2 separate regions of the Homo sapiens genome follow, and region 1 is linked to region 2. The links are contacts of gene promoters, found by promoter capture Hi-C in blood cells and fetal thymus (Javierre and others, 2016). All regions are on one chromosome and are shown on one strand. Each heading gives the region's core, a stretch centred on a gene start or on the middle of the fragment in contact. The rest is flanking DNA. Distances are from core to core; before and after follow the strand shown. Region 1 overlaps CD244 (CD244 molecule). Region 2 holds the start of CD48 (CD48 molecule).

Region 1 (3,337 bases), core at 84-2,583, 130 kb before region 2:
TTTTATATATAATTTATATATATATTGGTTTAATGATCTTCAAATTCTTATAGCCTTATTGATTTTTTTGTGTGCTTCTTGTAGCAGCTAGAGAGACAGATGTAATAAAACTCTCCAACTATAGTTGTGGATTTACTTCTCCTTTTAGTTCTATCAAATTTTATTTTATATATTTTAAACTTGTTATATGCATAGAAACTGAAGATGATTGTTTATTCCTACTTAATTGGTTCTTTTATAATGATGACATTTCCTTCTATTTCTGTATATTTTTTATACATCTTATGTCTTTTTTTGTTCATTTTCTCCGTTATTGCCTTCTTTTGTATTTAATTGATATTTTTGTGCTGCATCTTTTTGATTCCCTTCTCATTTCTTTTTCTGTACATTTTGTTATTTTCTCAATGGTTACCACAGGTATTACAATGAATACCTCCAACAATATAGTTTGAATTGATGCCAATTCAGCCTCAATACTATAGAAAACTCCTATACAGCTCTATCCCCCCACTTTTATTGTCACAAATTACATCTGTTTCTATTGTTTTTCACTTCTTGTGCCTGAGTTTCCATTTTCTTTATATCTAAAGAACATCCTTTGGTATTTCCTTTACTGCAGGCCTTTTTGTGACAAATTCTTTCCGTTTTTAATTTTTTCTAAAAATGTCTTTATTTCAGCTTCATTTAAAAAATTATTACTATTTTTTGAGACAGTCTCACTTTGTCACCCAGGCAGGAGGGGAGTGGCACCATCTTGGCTCGCTGCAGCCTTGACTTCCTGGGTTCAAGTGATTCTCGTGCCTCAGCCTCCTGAGTAGCCGGGATTATGGGCGCGTGCCACCACGCTCAGCTAACTTTTGTATTTTTAGTCGAGATGGGGTTTGCCATGTTGGCCAGCCTGGTCTCCAACTCCCGACCTCAACTGATTCACCTGCTTCAGCCTCCCAAAGTGCGGGGATTACAGGCATGAGCCACTGCATCTGCTTTCATCTTTGAAGTACCGAAATTCTAGATAGGCAGTTATTTTCTTTCAGCACTTTAAATATATCATTCCTTGGAAAACCAAACAACGTATGTTCTCACTGATACGTGGGAGTTAAGCTACGAGGATGCAAAGGCATAAGAATGATACAGTGGACTTTGGTGACTTGGGAGGAAAAGTGGGAGGGGAGTGAGGGATAAAAGACTATAAATAGAGTGCAGTGTATACTGCTCGGGTGATGGGTGCACCGACTCACAAATCACCTCTAATGAACTTTCTCTTGTAACCAAACACCACCTGTACCCCAATAACCTATGGAAAAATAAAAAAAAAAGATACCATTCCATCATCTGCTTTTTATTATTTTTGCTGAAATGTCAGCTAAGTTGTTTGTTTTGTGAAGGGAATTTAGTTTTCCCCCACTCTGGCTATTTTACGATTTTTCTATTTATCTTTGGTTTCCATAATTTTTTTGATGTATTGAGAGGTTGTCTTTTGTTCATTGGTTTGTTTTTTTTCTTTTTTTTTTTTTGAGACAGAGTTTCACTCTTGTTGCCCAGGTTGGAGTGCAGTGGCGTGATCTCGGCTCACTGCAACCTCCACCTCCTGGATTCAAGTGATTCTCCTGCCTCAGCCTCCCAAGTAGCTGGGATTACAGGTGTGCACCACCATACTTGGCTAATTTTTGCATTTTTAGCAGAGATGGGATTTTGTCATATTGGCCAGGCTGGTCTCAAACTCCTGACGTCAGGTGATCCATCCACCTGGGCCTCCCAAAGTGCTGGGATTACAGGCGTGAGCCACCGTGCCCAGCTTGTCGGTTTGTTTTGATCTTGCTTGGGGTTTGTAACACATTTTACAAATCTATCTTGATGGCTTTTGTCAGTTTTGGGAAATTCTTATCTTTTATCTCTTTTGCTTAGTTCCTCTTTCCTCTCTCGTCTCCTTGCTTTCCAATTACACTTAGTTTAGGGGTTTTGTTTTGTTTTTGCTATATCTCAAATATCTTTTACACTCCTTCTTGTGTATTTTTATCCTTTTGTTTTTCTTTACTTCACTCTGGATATTTTATAACAGTTTTCTAATTCTCTTTTCAATGGCATCTAAATGGCCTTTTTAACCTTTCAATTGAGTTTGTTTTACAGTTATTTTACATTTTATTTCTGTAATTTTCATTGAATTCTTTAAAAAAAATCCAATTTCAGGTAACTATTGCTGCATAATGACCTACTCCAAAATCCAGTAGTTTAAAACAACTACCTATTTAGTTAGTGATTCTGCTAGTTGGCAATTTGGGCTGGGCTCAGCTAGGTGGTTCTTTTGGTTTCCTCTTGCATCAGTCATGCATGTGTGGTCAGCTGCCAGACTGGCCACGGGTGGCTGATTCATTTATTTATTTTTTATTGTTTTTTGAGATTAGGTCTTGCTCTGTCATGCAGGCTAGAGTGCAGTGGCATGATATCTCGGCTCACTGCAAGCTCCATCTCCCGGGTTCAAGCAGTTCTCGTGCCTCAGACTCCCAAGTAGCTGGGGTTACAAGTGTGTGCCACCATGTCTGGCTAATTTTTGTATCGTTAGTAGAGACGAGGTTTTACCATGTTGGCCAGGGTGGTCTCGAACTCCCGACCTTGAGTGATCTGCCGGCCTTGGCCTCCCAAAGTGCTGGAATTACGGGCATGAGCCACCGCACCAGGCCAGGGCTAGCTGATTTAGAATGGCCTTAGCTGTGTTGGCTTATCTCTGTATCATGTGATATCTTATTCTCCAGCAGGCTATTTTAGGCTTGTTCACAGGTCAGCCAGATGAGGTTCCAAGAGAACAAGTAGAAATGTGCAATGCCTTTTCAGATCTAGGCTTAGAACTAGCAGAACATCATTTTTGCTGCGTTTCATCATGAAGACCAGCCCAGTTCCAAGAGACAGGGAAATGAACCCCATTTCTTGATAACAGAAGGAGCTGTAAAGTCACATTGCAAGGACATGGTATTTTTGCATTCTATCACGCTAGTTCTCTGCTGAAATTCTTAAACTTATGTTTTATTTCCTTGAACATATTAGACATGATTACTTTAAAGTTTATGACTGACAACTCTATTATGTAGATGCCCTGTTTGTTGGTTTCTGTTGTCTCTATTCTTCTGTTGGTTTTTGGAGATGTTTCCTTTTCTTATACTTCACTTTGGATATTGTGTATGAAACATTCTAGGAATAATTTAATGCTCTGGTTGATGTTATTTTCCTCTAGTCATAACTTATATTTGCCTCTAGTTGGCAGCCAGGTTAGGGCTACCAGAGATTCCAGATCATTAGTTCAATCCAGGGTTGTGATGATTCAAAATTGAGCTTCAGTTCCTGT
Region 2 (3,516 bases), core at 871-3,370:
TCCCCCCAAAAAAGAGAATGTAACATTAATTTACAGGGTCTCTTTTAAAAATCTAATACAATGTTATCTTTTCTTGCTGAAGGAGCAGGGTCGTATCCTAAGGTTAAATCAATTTATAGGAAAAATATAACACACAGTTCCAAAGTGTAACAATTTGACCAAGAGGAATTTGATTCTGGTGCTGTTTCAAATTTTATTTGCAGGGTTCTTTCTTTTCACTTTTATGTTTTTTTCCCTTTTATTTTTAGTTGACATATAATAATTATACATATTTATGGGATACAGAGTAATATTTTGATACATGTATTCAATGTGTGATGATCAAATCAAAGCAATTAGGATACCTATCACCTCAAACATTGATCATTTCTTTGTGTTGGGAACATTCCAAATCCTCTCTTCTAGCTTTTTGAACATATACATTAAATTATTCTTAACTGTATTCACTCCATAGTGCTACAGGATGCTGGAACTTATTCCTCTTCTCTAGCTGTAACTTTGTATCTATTAACCAACTTCTTCCCATCCTCCACTTCCCTCTACCCTTCCCAGCCTCTGATAACCACAATTTTACTCTCTACTTCTATGAGCTCATTTTTTAAGCTTCCATATATGATTGGGAACGTGGTTTTTTATCTTTCTGTGCATGACTTATTTCACTTAACATAATGTCCTTCAGGTTTGAGGACTGAGAAGAGCAGACATTTTATTGTTCATCTCCATGTTGAGAATCAGAAATGTCCCCAATTAAAAAGTGATTACAAATATGTTATATCAGGAACTGTGGCTTGCCTGTGGGTCCTGGGTGGGCAAATAACTAATTTACATTCAATAGGAATGAGCTTGAAATTTCCTAGACATGATATGATTTGGCTGTGTTCCCTTCCAAATCTCATCTTGAATTGTAGTTCCCATAATCCCCACATATCATGGGAGCAACCCAGTAGGAAGTAAGTTAATCATACGAGCAGTTACCATCATGCTGTTCTCGTGATAGTGAGTTCTCACTAGATCTGATGGTTTCATAAGGAAGGGGCTTTCCCCATTGCTGCTCAGTGCTTCTCTTTCCTGCCACCGTGTGAAGAAGGACGTATTGGCTTCCCCTTGCACCATGATTGTAGGTTTCCTGAGGCTTCCCAAGCCATGCTGAACTAGAAGTCAATTTAACCACTTTCCTGGCCAGGCACAGGCCCATGCCTATAATCCCAGCACTTTGGGAGGCTGAGGCAGGTGGATCACTTGAGGTCAGGAGTTCAAGACCAGCCGGGCCAACATGGTGAAACCCTACTAAAAATACAAAAATTAGCTGGGCATGGTGGTGCTTGCCTGTAATCCCAGCTATGTAGGAGGCTGAGGCAGGAGAGTTGCTTGAACCTGTCAGGTGGAGGTTGCAGTGAGCTGAGATTGCACTGCTGCACTCCAGTCTGGGCTACAGAGTGAGACTGCATCTCAAAAAAAAAAAAAACCAAAACAAACAAAACAAAACAAAACCCCTCTCTTTCCTTTATAAATTACCCAGTCTGGGGTATGTCTTTATTAGCAGTGTGAGAACAGACTAATACAGACTACAAGGGTGGGAAATCCATTCTTTTGGGCCAAGTAATCTTACTTTTTTTCTGATGTTCAGTGGATAGGCTGATGTCAAACTTCAAATAGTGAATTATCATAAAGGAAGAAGAGCAGAGGGTGGTGCTGGGGGTAAGATATGCAGCACAAAGGCTACGTGGGTCTGATTTCCCAGACTTCAGGCTCTGAATGACACCTACCCAGGCTTGACTGGGAAGCTCCTATGTCTTAGCCCCTGAATTAATCAGAGGGATTCCTGCCTGGGAACGAAAAGCAGACATTCTCTATCAGGGTCCCTTATTCTTTTCTGAGTACTGGCCCCCCTGAGAGTACAGTAGAAGCTATGAATCTTCCCCCTACAAAAAAGCACTCATGTACCTTCAAACAAAATTGTTCTCAGTTTCCGTGATGCTCTTAGATAAAAAAATTTACAAGACCTCCGGTTTCTGGTTTCTGGGGCCCCACACAAGTGTGCTGGGTGGAGAGAAAATCTCAGTGGTTTTTTTTTTTTTCTCTCTAACCCTGTTTGGTAAGTTCCGTTTTTAGCCCCGGCCTTTTTCTAGCCAGGCTCTCAACTGTCTCCTGCGTTGCTGGGAAGTTCTGGAAGGAAGCATGTGCTCCAGAGGTTGGGATTCGTGTCTGGCTCTGGAATTGCTACTGCTGCCTCTGTCACTCCTGGTGACCAGCATTCAAGGTACTTTCCACCAACTGTGTATCTGTGATTGTGCACTGAAGGCATGGTCAGTTGGGAAAGGGGAGACGGGATGTAGTTCAACCCTAGAAGCCAGATCTGGTGTCTGGAAAGCAGGTATTTCCATTCCAATAGCATGGCCATGGCATGGTTGGGGAGCCTTTCTTAGCACTGATGAATGGAGCTTCATCTCCTTTCCCACGGGGATGTGATCAAAACAGGAACCTGGGGAGCAAGAGAAGTAGGCTCCTCATATTTTGTCCCGTGGTTGGTGGTCCATGAAGTTGTGGAAAAGTGTTTGTTTTTTCATTTTGAATAAGAAGAAGCTCTACACTGACAGCTGCTGCATTTTATGCTCAGACACACTGTACTCCCTTAGGCATTCTTTGAGACCTCTGTATATGTGAGGTGTTGCATCCTGAGCCAAGGTAAATGATATTGTCATTGACCCAAAGAAAAGATAGATCAAAATTATAGGAAGAAAAGCTTGGAAAGGATTGCTGTCTGGGGTCTCTGAATGAGGGTCTGAGAAGAGGCTGGAAGTGCTTCAGCATCAAAGGAACCTTAACACATCTGATTGCTAAGAGTTAAGGTCCATTCCTCTGCCACAGCCTGTTCGGTCCCCGGTGTGTGACCAAGGGCTGAGCTAACTTTCCTTCTCCTGTTAGAGCTGCCTCACCCTCTTTCTTCATCCAGTACCTCTCTTCTTATGCCAGCTGAGAAACAGCAGTGAAACCTTTGACTTTCTTGCTATTCCCCCAAGTAAATACTCAAGTCTTTTTAATTTAAAGGGCTTTAATGCTCACCACTCTGAGTAAAACAGTAAAAATCAACAAACATGTGGTAGTCACACTGTGGCATAAAATGATGATAGTTTGTAACTTTTGGGGAGATGAGGTAGAATGTGTGGAGGATCGGTCTCTCACATATTCTACCTCTCAGGTAGAGTCCTTTGGTTCATGACTGTGTGAGTCTACGGCTATATAGGTTCTGTGGGCCTGACTCAATGCATAGGACATTGGTATGACCTTGGGATTGGGGGCTGATGTGAAGTATTCATCTAACTATTGGGAAAAGCAGGGTTGCCAATGAGAATTGGAATATTTTAGGACTTTCTCTAGGCATACTGAAAACATCCTGACAGTTGACCTTTCTCTGACTTCTTTTCTAGGCTTCATCTTGGTCATTTATTCTTCTTTGAAACAATCAGACCACACCTGATTATGTTATCCTTTGAATGGATAATATTGGTTTTGATG

What was found. Contacts are between HindIII fragments. The CHiCAGO score rates a contact against its expected background, and 5 or more counts as called.
Region 1: a contact is called between a fragment that was not itself captured here and the fragment with the promoter of CD48 in region 2, in 1 of 17 cell types (fetal thymus). The highest score is 5.8, in fetal thymus.

The regions. Positions count from the first base shown.
Region 1 is chr1:160,844,034-160,847,370 of GRCh38, reverse strand. The region is part of intron 1 of CD244 (CD244 molecule); the gene reads left to right. Among named protein-coding and RNA genes, the nearest start is that of CD244, 17 kb to the left of the region's middle. The HindIII fragment of the contact is 5,513 bases long and covers 1-3,337 here.
Region 2 is chr1:160,710,426-160,713,941 of GRCh38, reverse strand. It overlaps CD48 (CD48 molecule), which reads left to right and starts at 2,120. Exons shown (of 4, transcript NM_001778.4): 1 at 2,120-2,260. The coding sequence starts at 2,179. RefSeq lists enhancers at 1,092-1,151, 1,692-1,871. The HindIII fragment of the contact is 2,140 bases long and covers 606-2,745 here.